2 separate regions of the Homo sapiens genome follow, and region 1 is linked to region 2. Evidence: promoter capture Hi-C in human tissues and cell types (Jung and others, 2019). All regions are on one chromosome and are shown on one strand. The core of a region is centred on a gene start or on the middle of the fragment in contact, and the rest is flanking DNA. Distances in the headings are between cores, read along the strand shown. Region 1 overlaps SDE2 (spliceosome associated SDE2). Region 2 holds the start of PYCR2 (pyrroline-5-carboxylate reductase 2).

What was found. Contacts are between HindIII fragments. The study calls those that stand out against the background at their distance.
Region 1: a contact is called between a fragment that was not itself captured here and the fragment with the promoter of PYCR2 in region 2, in 6 of the 25 tissues and cell types used here (H1 embryonic stem cells, aorta, heart left ventricle and 3 more).

The regions. Positions count from the first base shown.
Region 1 is chr1:225,992,754-225,995,996 of GRCh38, forward strand. SDE2 (spliceosome associated SDE2) reads right to left here. Exons shown (of 7, transcript NM_152608.4): 2 at 2,513-2,630; 3 at 138-249. Among named protein-coding and RNA genes, the nearest start is that of SDE2, 5.0 kb to the right of the region's middle. The HindIII fragment of the contact is 4,719 bases long and covers 1-3,243 here.
Region 2 is chr1:225,922,783-225,926,380 of GRCh38, forward strand. PYCR2 (pyrroline-5-carboxylate reductase 2) reads right to left here and starts at 1,468. Exons shown (of 7, transcript NM_013328.4): 1 at 1,262-1,468; 2 at 919-989. The coding sequence starts at 1,328. RefSeq lists silencers at 1,065-1,194, 1,505-1,594, 1,735-1,814 and an enhancer at 1,365-2,014. The HindIII fragment of the contact is 28,660 bases long and covers 1-3,598 here.

The DNA of each region.
Region 1 (3,243 bases), core at 63-2,562, 70 kb after region 2:
AAGGTTAAATCTGATAATAAATTTGGATGTAAATATTTTAAGTTTCCATTTCCAATATGCGTGGCATATGTATAATCACTACTAATAGGAAAGTATATGTCTCTCCTCAAAAACACAAAAAAAGGTGGGCATCTTACGCTTTTTCATGATTGACATCGCGTAGTCTCCTTCCACTGAGATCCCGACAAGCTTCTCGATTGGTTGTCTTCTCAATCTGAGCACCAAGTGCTCGGAGCATAGATCCAAAACCTGAGCAGATGTATTTGGAGAAAGCAGGTTAAAATGTGTTCAAGGATGGATAAAAGCAGAATTTGTGAAAACAATCTGTATCACAAGATTAACAATGATCTCTACTTTCTTTCTTTTTTTTTTTTTTTAAGAAAAGATGAACATCAAGGTTCTAATTCAGGCAGCGAAAGTAAAAAGACTGATTTAACCTCATGCCTTTCACCTTTCATTTTATAGTTCTGAGATAAAATACCTAGCCTTCCCAAACCTAATTATTTATCCTTGTGTTAGTTATTTGCATACCGGTATAATACCTGTACAGCTAGAATATTTAAAAAGCTTTACCCAGGCCAGGTGCAGTGGCTCACGCCTGTAATCCCAGCACTTTGGGAGGCTGAGGCGGGCAGATCATGAGGTCAGGAGATCAAGACCATCCTGGCTAACACAGTGAAACCCCGTCTCTACTAAAAAATACAAAAAATTAGCCAGGCGTGGTGGCGGGCGCCTGTAGTCCCAGCTACTCAGGAGGCTGAGGCAGGAGAATGGCGTGAACCCAGGAGGCAGAGCTTGCAGTGAGCTGAGCTCGTGCCACTGCACTCCAGCCTGGGAAACAGAGCCAGGCTCTGTCTCAAAAAAAAAAAAAAGAAGCTTTACACAATCACAGAGATCCCAAGATTCTCAGATTAAGAACTTAAAAAGTATATAGTGAGATTTTTCAATGAGTTTAGAAGGAAAGGCAATTTTAAGCTCCACTGGCTGATATAACATGCTTCATTCATTCATTCTTTTTATCCCCCCTAAGAGATGGGGCCTTGCTCTGTCATCCAGGCTAGAGGGCAATGGCTTGATGTAATCAAAGCTCACTGCAGCCTTGAACTCCTGGGCTCAATGGATCCTCTTACCACAGCCTCCCAAGTTGCTAGGATTACAGGCGTGTACCGATGCAGCTAGCTATTTTTTTTTTTTTGTAGAGACCAAGGTCTCACCATCTTGCCCAGGCTAGTCTCAAACTCCTGGGTTCAAACTGTCCTCCCACCTTGGACTCTCAAAGTGTTGGGATTACAGGCATGAGCCACCATGCCTGGCCACATGCTTCATTCTTTTTTTTTTTTTTTGAGAGAGTCTCACTGTGTCGCCCAGGCTGTAGTGCAGTGGCACAATCTCGGCTCACTGCAGCCTCCACCTCCAAGGTTCAAGTGATTCTCCTGCCTCAGCCTCCCAAGTAGCTGAGATTACAGGCTCCTAACACCACACCTGGCTAATTTTTATATCTCTAGTAGAGACGGGGTTTTGCCATGTTGGCTAGCCTGGTCTCGAACTCCTGACCTAGGTGATCCGCCCGCCTTGGCCTCCCAAAGTGCTGGGATTACAGGCGTGAGCCACCGTGCCCAGCCCACGCTTCATTCTTAATCATACAATTTCAAACAGCTGGATATAGTCTGAGATGTCAGCTCTCTGAAAACCAAACCAAATCACTGTAGATTTTGAGAAAGCTTAGGGATCACATGTTACTACATTAGGAGAAATACCAACAACTGTTTATATTGTTTTCGCTCTTTGTTATCTTTCCTAGTAGTTGTGTTAAACAAACAAAACCTTAATCTGCCTCAACTTATAAACAATTGTGTTTCCTAAGGTAACTTTAGACTTCCTTTGGAACTACAAAAACGAGACAAAATCCTGATTAAAGCAGAAGGAGATTTAGAAAAAAAACTCTTTATTCAGCAAATTGAACAGAATAATGGCCATCTCTCTTCATCTAATTTTCCCCCAAAGTTTTAGAGCCTAGGTTCCCTAAGAGCTATCCAGCTGAACAAAGTGGGAATTGTATCACACAATATTTCTTCCTCGACCAAAATAAAAGACAGCCTGGGCAACATGGCGAAACCCCATCTCTACAAAAAATACAAAAATTAGCTGCGCATGGTGGCATGTGCCTATAGTCCCAGCTACTGGGGAAACTGAGGTGGGAGTATTGCTTGAGTTCAGGAGGTCAAAGCTGCAGTGAGCCGTGATCGTACCACTGTACTCCAGCCTGGGCGACAAAACAAGGCAGTGTCTCAAAAGAAAGAAAACAAAAGAATAAGAGAGAAAATGTCCAAAATCAGGTTAAGTAAATAAAAGAATTCATAAGGTAAAACAATATTGGCATACTAAAGAGACTAAGAAGGTTGTTAATTTAATACCATGGCTAAAGACAGCAAATGTCAGCAGCAGAATATGAAAATAAATGAATAAAGACTGCAAATGTGTTACAACTAAGTAGTCAATGTTCAGGTCCTACCTCCTTTTCCACCGCAAAGTCTGGGTTCCAAACTATAAACAGCTCCATGCTGCACTGTGTCACTGGTGTTAATGAGTGCTCCATTGCATTTCACAAAGAAGTTTTCCACTGGAACATTCTAGAGACAAATTTGTTTTTTTAATGCCTTTTATGAGATAATAATCTAAGTTTGTTACAAGAAGGGACCTAGCTGTCTTTTTATTACTCTGGTTACAACAGAGGGTGTTCAATTAATATTTGTTGAATTGAAAATGTAAACTACTAGGAGAAAAAGTCATTTCACATGATGCATTTTGGGTATAATTTTTTCCCAATATTACCTAATCATCACATATAGAAGAAACTTCAGTCTTTGCGGTGACAACAAAAACTGCTTCTTCTTCTCTGATAGGTAATCTGAGTCAAGGTAGAAGACTATGCAGGACTCAGATTAAATAACTGTGGAGGTCCCATTTTCTGACTTTCTTAAACAGGTAAAATTAAATTGAACATCAAAAGTAGTCCTCAATCCTAAAAAGTGCAGGTAGGAATAAGAAGTAGAGAAGGAAGGAGTCAAGAGTGTGGTTTTTAATACACCTATATAAGTACACCATAGGAGACATAAATACATGAAAAATGAGCAAAAATGAGCAAAGTTGCTGAAGATAGCCTAAGATGCTGGGCAGCCCCAGATTCTGTGTAGCTGCCCCAGAGCCTACATGAATCAATACTCTAAGCAGTCCTGTAACCCA
Region 2 (3,598 bases), core at 218-2,717:
ACCGCACAGTCTCCATGTGGTCCAGGGCTAGGCTGGAAGCCATCCATCCCTCTATGACTCCAAACTGAGAAGCAGGACCCTCCAGTGCTAGGGACATCAGCCCACCCTAGGCACAGACACTGCCTGTCACCTGCCTCATCAGCCATCCTCTCCCACAGAGCACAGGTTTTGGGTGAAGACTTGGAATATGTTTTTGGAGAACAGAACAACTAACTCACCAGATTCTTCCCAATATGCTCATTCACGACTCAGAATAACAGCAAAGTGGCCACTGTTGTAAATGAGGAAATAGCCTCAAAGTGGCTGAGTACTTTAAGGTCATACAACTCGTCTATTAAGAAAAATGGCTGAGCGCAGTGGCTCACCCCTGTAATCCCAGCACTTTGGGAGGCCAAGGCGGGCAGATCACTTGAGGCCAGGAGTTCGAGACCAGCCTGGCCAACAGTATTCTCTACCAAAAATACAAAAATTAGCTGCGCGTGGTGGATGCCTGTAATTCCAGCTACTCGGGAGGCTGAGGTGGGAGGCTGAGGTGGGAGGCGGAGGTTACAGTGAGCTGAGATCGCGCCACTGCACTCCAGCTTGGGCGACAGAGTAAGACCCTGTCTGAAAAAAAATTTAAAAAATGAGTATTTATTAGGTACCTACTATGTGCCAGGTGCTTTCATCACATAATCACCTCAGTTAATCCTCTACCACTCCAGTGTCTGGATCTGACCCCCAGTTATGTCTCCCTGGGTGTTCCCACCACATTGAGCTGCCCAAGAGAAGGTGGAAAGATTGTCACGTTCCTGGAGTAAAGGTCACCGCCGGCCAAAGACCAGCACTTGGGCGCAGGGGCCGGCCAGACTCACTTCATCTCAGGTCATCCTTTTCCTGGGCCTCCACCCGCTTCCCACTCCGCCCGGCTCCACCTACCCTGAGCGCGGACACCGTGGGCAGGTTCATTTCTGGGGAGCTGGCTATTATCTTGTGAGCCGACAGGATGCCTGCAGAAGACAGAGCTTTTCAACTAGGGGTCGCGGCCCAGCCCGTTACCACGCTTTCCCTGGCTCTAAAACCCAGAGCCGTCCTAACAGTGCCAGTCTCCCTCTCCCCCTCAACCCTCTACGAGGACAGAAGACGCACTTGCTGCTCAACCAGAGTCTCATCTACCCCACCGGACGCAAACTCCCCTTTCATTCGCTCATGCTGGTGGGACGGAGGCCCCCTCGGGCCTCGGGACCGCCCGCGAAGCCGCCTCCCGCCTCCACGCGCTTGCCTGCGGCCGTGAAGCCCCGCGCCAGAGCATAGGCCAGCTGGCCGGCCCCGATGAAGCCCACGCTCATGGTCCGCGGTTCACGCCTCCTGGGAGCCGCACGAACCCCCTCAGCGAGGGACCGGAAGTAACGCTAGGGGAAGGGCGGACAGCGCAGGGGCGAACGGGCGGCGTGCCGAGGACCGGCGAGCTAACAGCAGCTTCTGGGATGGTGCAACCCTATTCTCCCCCGGCGGATATCTCCCGGGCGGCTGATGGCGCCTTAGGCCACGTGGCCCCGCCCCGTCCGGGCGACCAATCAGTGGCCAGGATCTCGGGGCAGGCCAATCCGCGGCCCGAGCCAGGCCGCGTGCCCGCCTCCTCCGCTCGCGACTGGAGGGCGGAACTCCGGGCTGGAGTCCCGGAAGCCCCTGTGGCAGCTTGGCGTGAGCTCCAGGCGCCCGCCGGCCCAGGACGCCCGGCCGCCCCCACCCCCCCCCCCCACCCCAAGGCTGAGGTCGCCGTCCCTAAGCCACCTCGGGCTCAGGGCTGAGGCCTGGCCCAGGCCTGGCTAATATTATTTCTGGCGCTGGCCATCAGATGCCCCTCAAGGCCCACAGGAATTCTCCAGGTTGCCGATTTGCGGGGATGAACGAGGCCCTCCTGGCGTAGGTTCAGACCAGGTGGCGGCGAGGTTCAGACCAGGTGGCGGCGAGGCGGCACCAGGGTGGTCAGCCGCGGCTTATTCACTTGAACTTGAGTGTTTCTCGCGAATTTGTCCAAACTAGATACAAGAAGGACAAGTTCGAGTCTCCGACTCTTCCGCGATCCCGCACCCCCCAGCCCCTTGCTGTCACTTGCCTTTTTTTTTTTGAGACGGAGTTTCACTCTTGTTGCCCAGGATGGAGTGCAGTGGCACGATCTCGGCTCACTGCAATCTCCGCCTCCCGGGTTCAAGCGATTCTCCTGCCTCAGCCTCCCCAGTAGCTGGGATTACAGGCGCCCGCTACCACGACCGGATAATTTTTGTATTTTTAGTAGAGACGGGGTTTCACCATGTTGTTCAGGCTGGTCTTCAACTCCTGACATCAGGTTATCCGCCCGCCTCGGCCTCCCAAAGTGCTGGGATTATAAGCGTGAGCCACCGCGCCCGACCTGTCTCTTGCTTTTAAAAGCTCCACCAATGTGATGTTTCCTTTTCTATCAGTAGTAAATATAAGGGGCCGCAGGGAACAAATGACAGAAGTAGAGAGGAAGAAGGTGGCGTTCCTAGAGGACTCAGAAGAGCTGAGGACCCTTAGTTCCCATGGTCTCTCTGCTAGCTTTTCTAGTCCTTTCCGTGTAATGCACACCCCCACTCCCAGGCAAGGGGCTGCTTTCTGTGAACTTCCCTGAGCAAGTCCCCAGGCCCTCAGTTTGTGCACCCTTTAAAGTGAGGACCAAATATAATATTTACTATTAAGCAAAATAATGCTATGTTTTATTTATTTATTTATTTATTTATTTATTGAGACAGAGTTTCGCTCTTGTTGCCCAGGCTGGAGTGCAATGGCACGATCTCGGCTCACTGCAACCTCCACCTCCCGGGTTCAAGCGATTCTCCTGCTTCAGCCTCCTGAGTAGCTGGGATTACAGGCATGCGCCACCACGCCCGGCTAATTTTTTGTATTTTTAGTAGAGACAGGGTTTCTCCATGTTGGTCAGGCTGATCTTGAACTCCCGACCTGAGGTGATCTGCCTGTCTCAGCCTCCCAAAGTGCTGGGATTACAGGCGTGAGCCACAGCACCTGGCCTCTGTATTTTTTAAATTCGAAAAGTAATACAGACATATTGAAGAAAGTTTGGAGATAAAAGTAAAAATAAAATCATCCACATCATACTTCCCAAAGATAGTTTCTTACAAACATTTTTGGTGTATTTCCTTACACTATCATGTCCTATGCATATCTACTTTCTCCATCATTGGAAATAAATGATGTACATGTAGTTTTGAAATTTCTCTAGTAGACATGAGCATTTTCCAATGTCACTGAAAAGTTATTTAAGACAGTTTTAATGACTACTTATTATATGTATGTACCTTACTGATTTAACCATTCAAAGGTCAATGTTAGGTTTATTGATTTATATAATAGATAACTTACTGAGCCAGGTTCTGGGAGTATAGCTATGAACAAAACAGACAAGTTCCTGTCCTCATAAAACATCAATTTATTATTATTTCTTATTTTTATTTATTTATTTATTTTTGAGACGGAGTCTTTGTTACCCAGGCTGGAGTGAAGTGGCATGATCTCGGCTCACTGCAACCTCCATCTCCCGGGTTCAAGCGATTCTCCTGTCTCAGCCTTCCGAGTACCT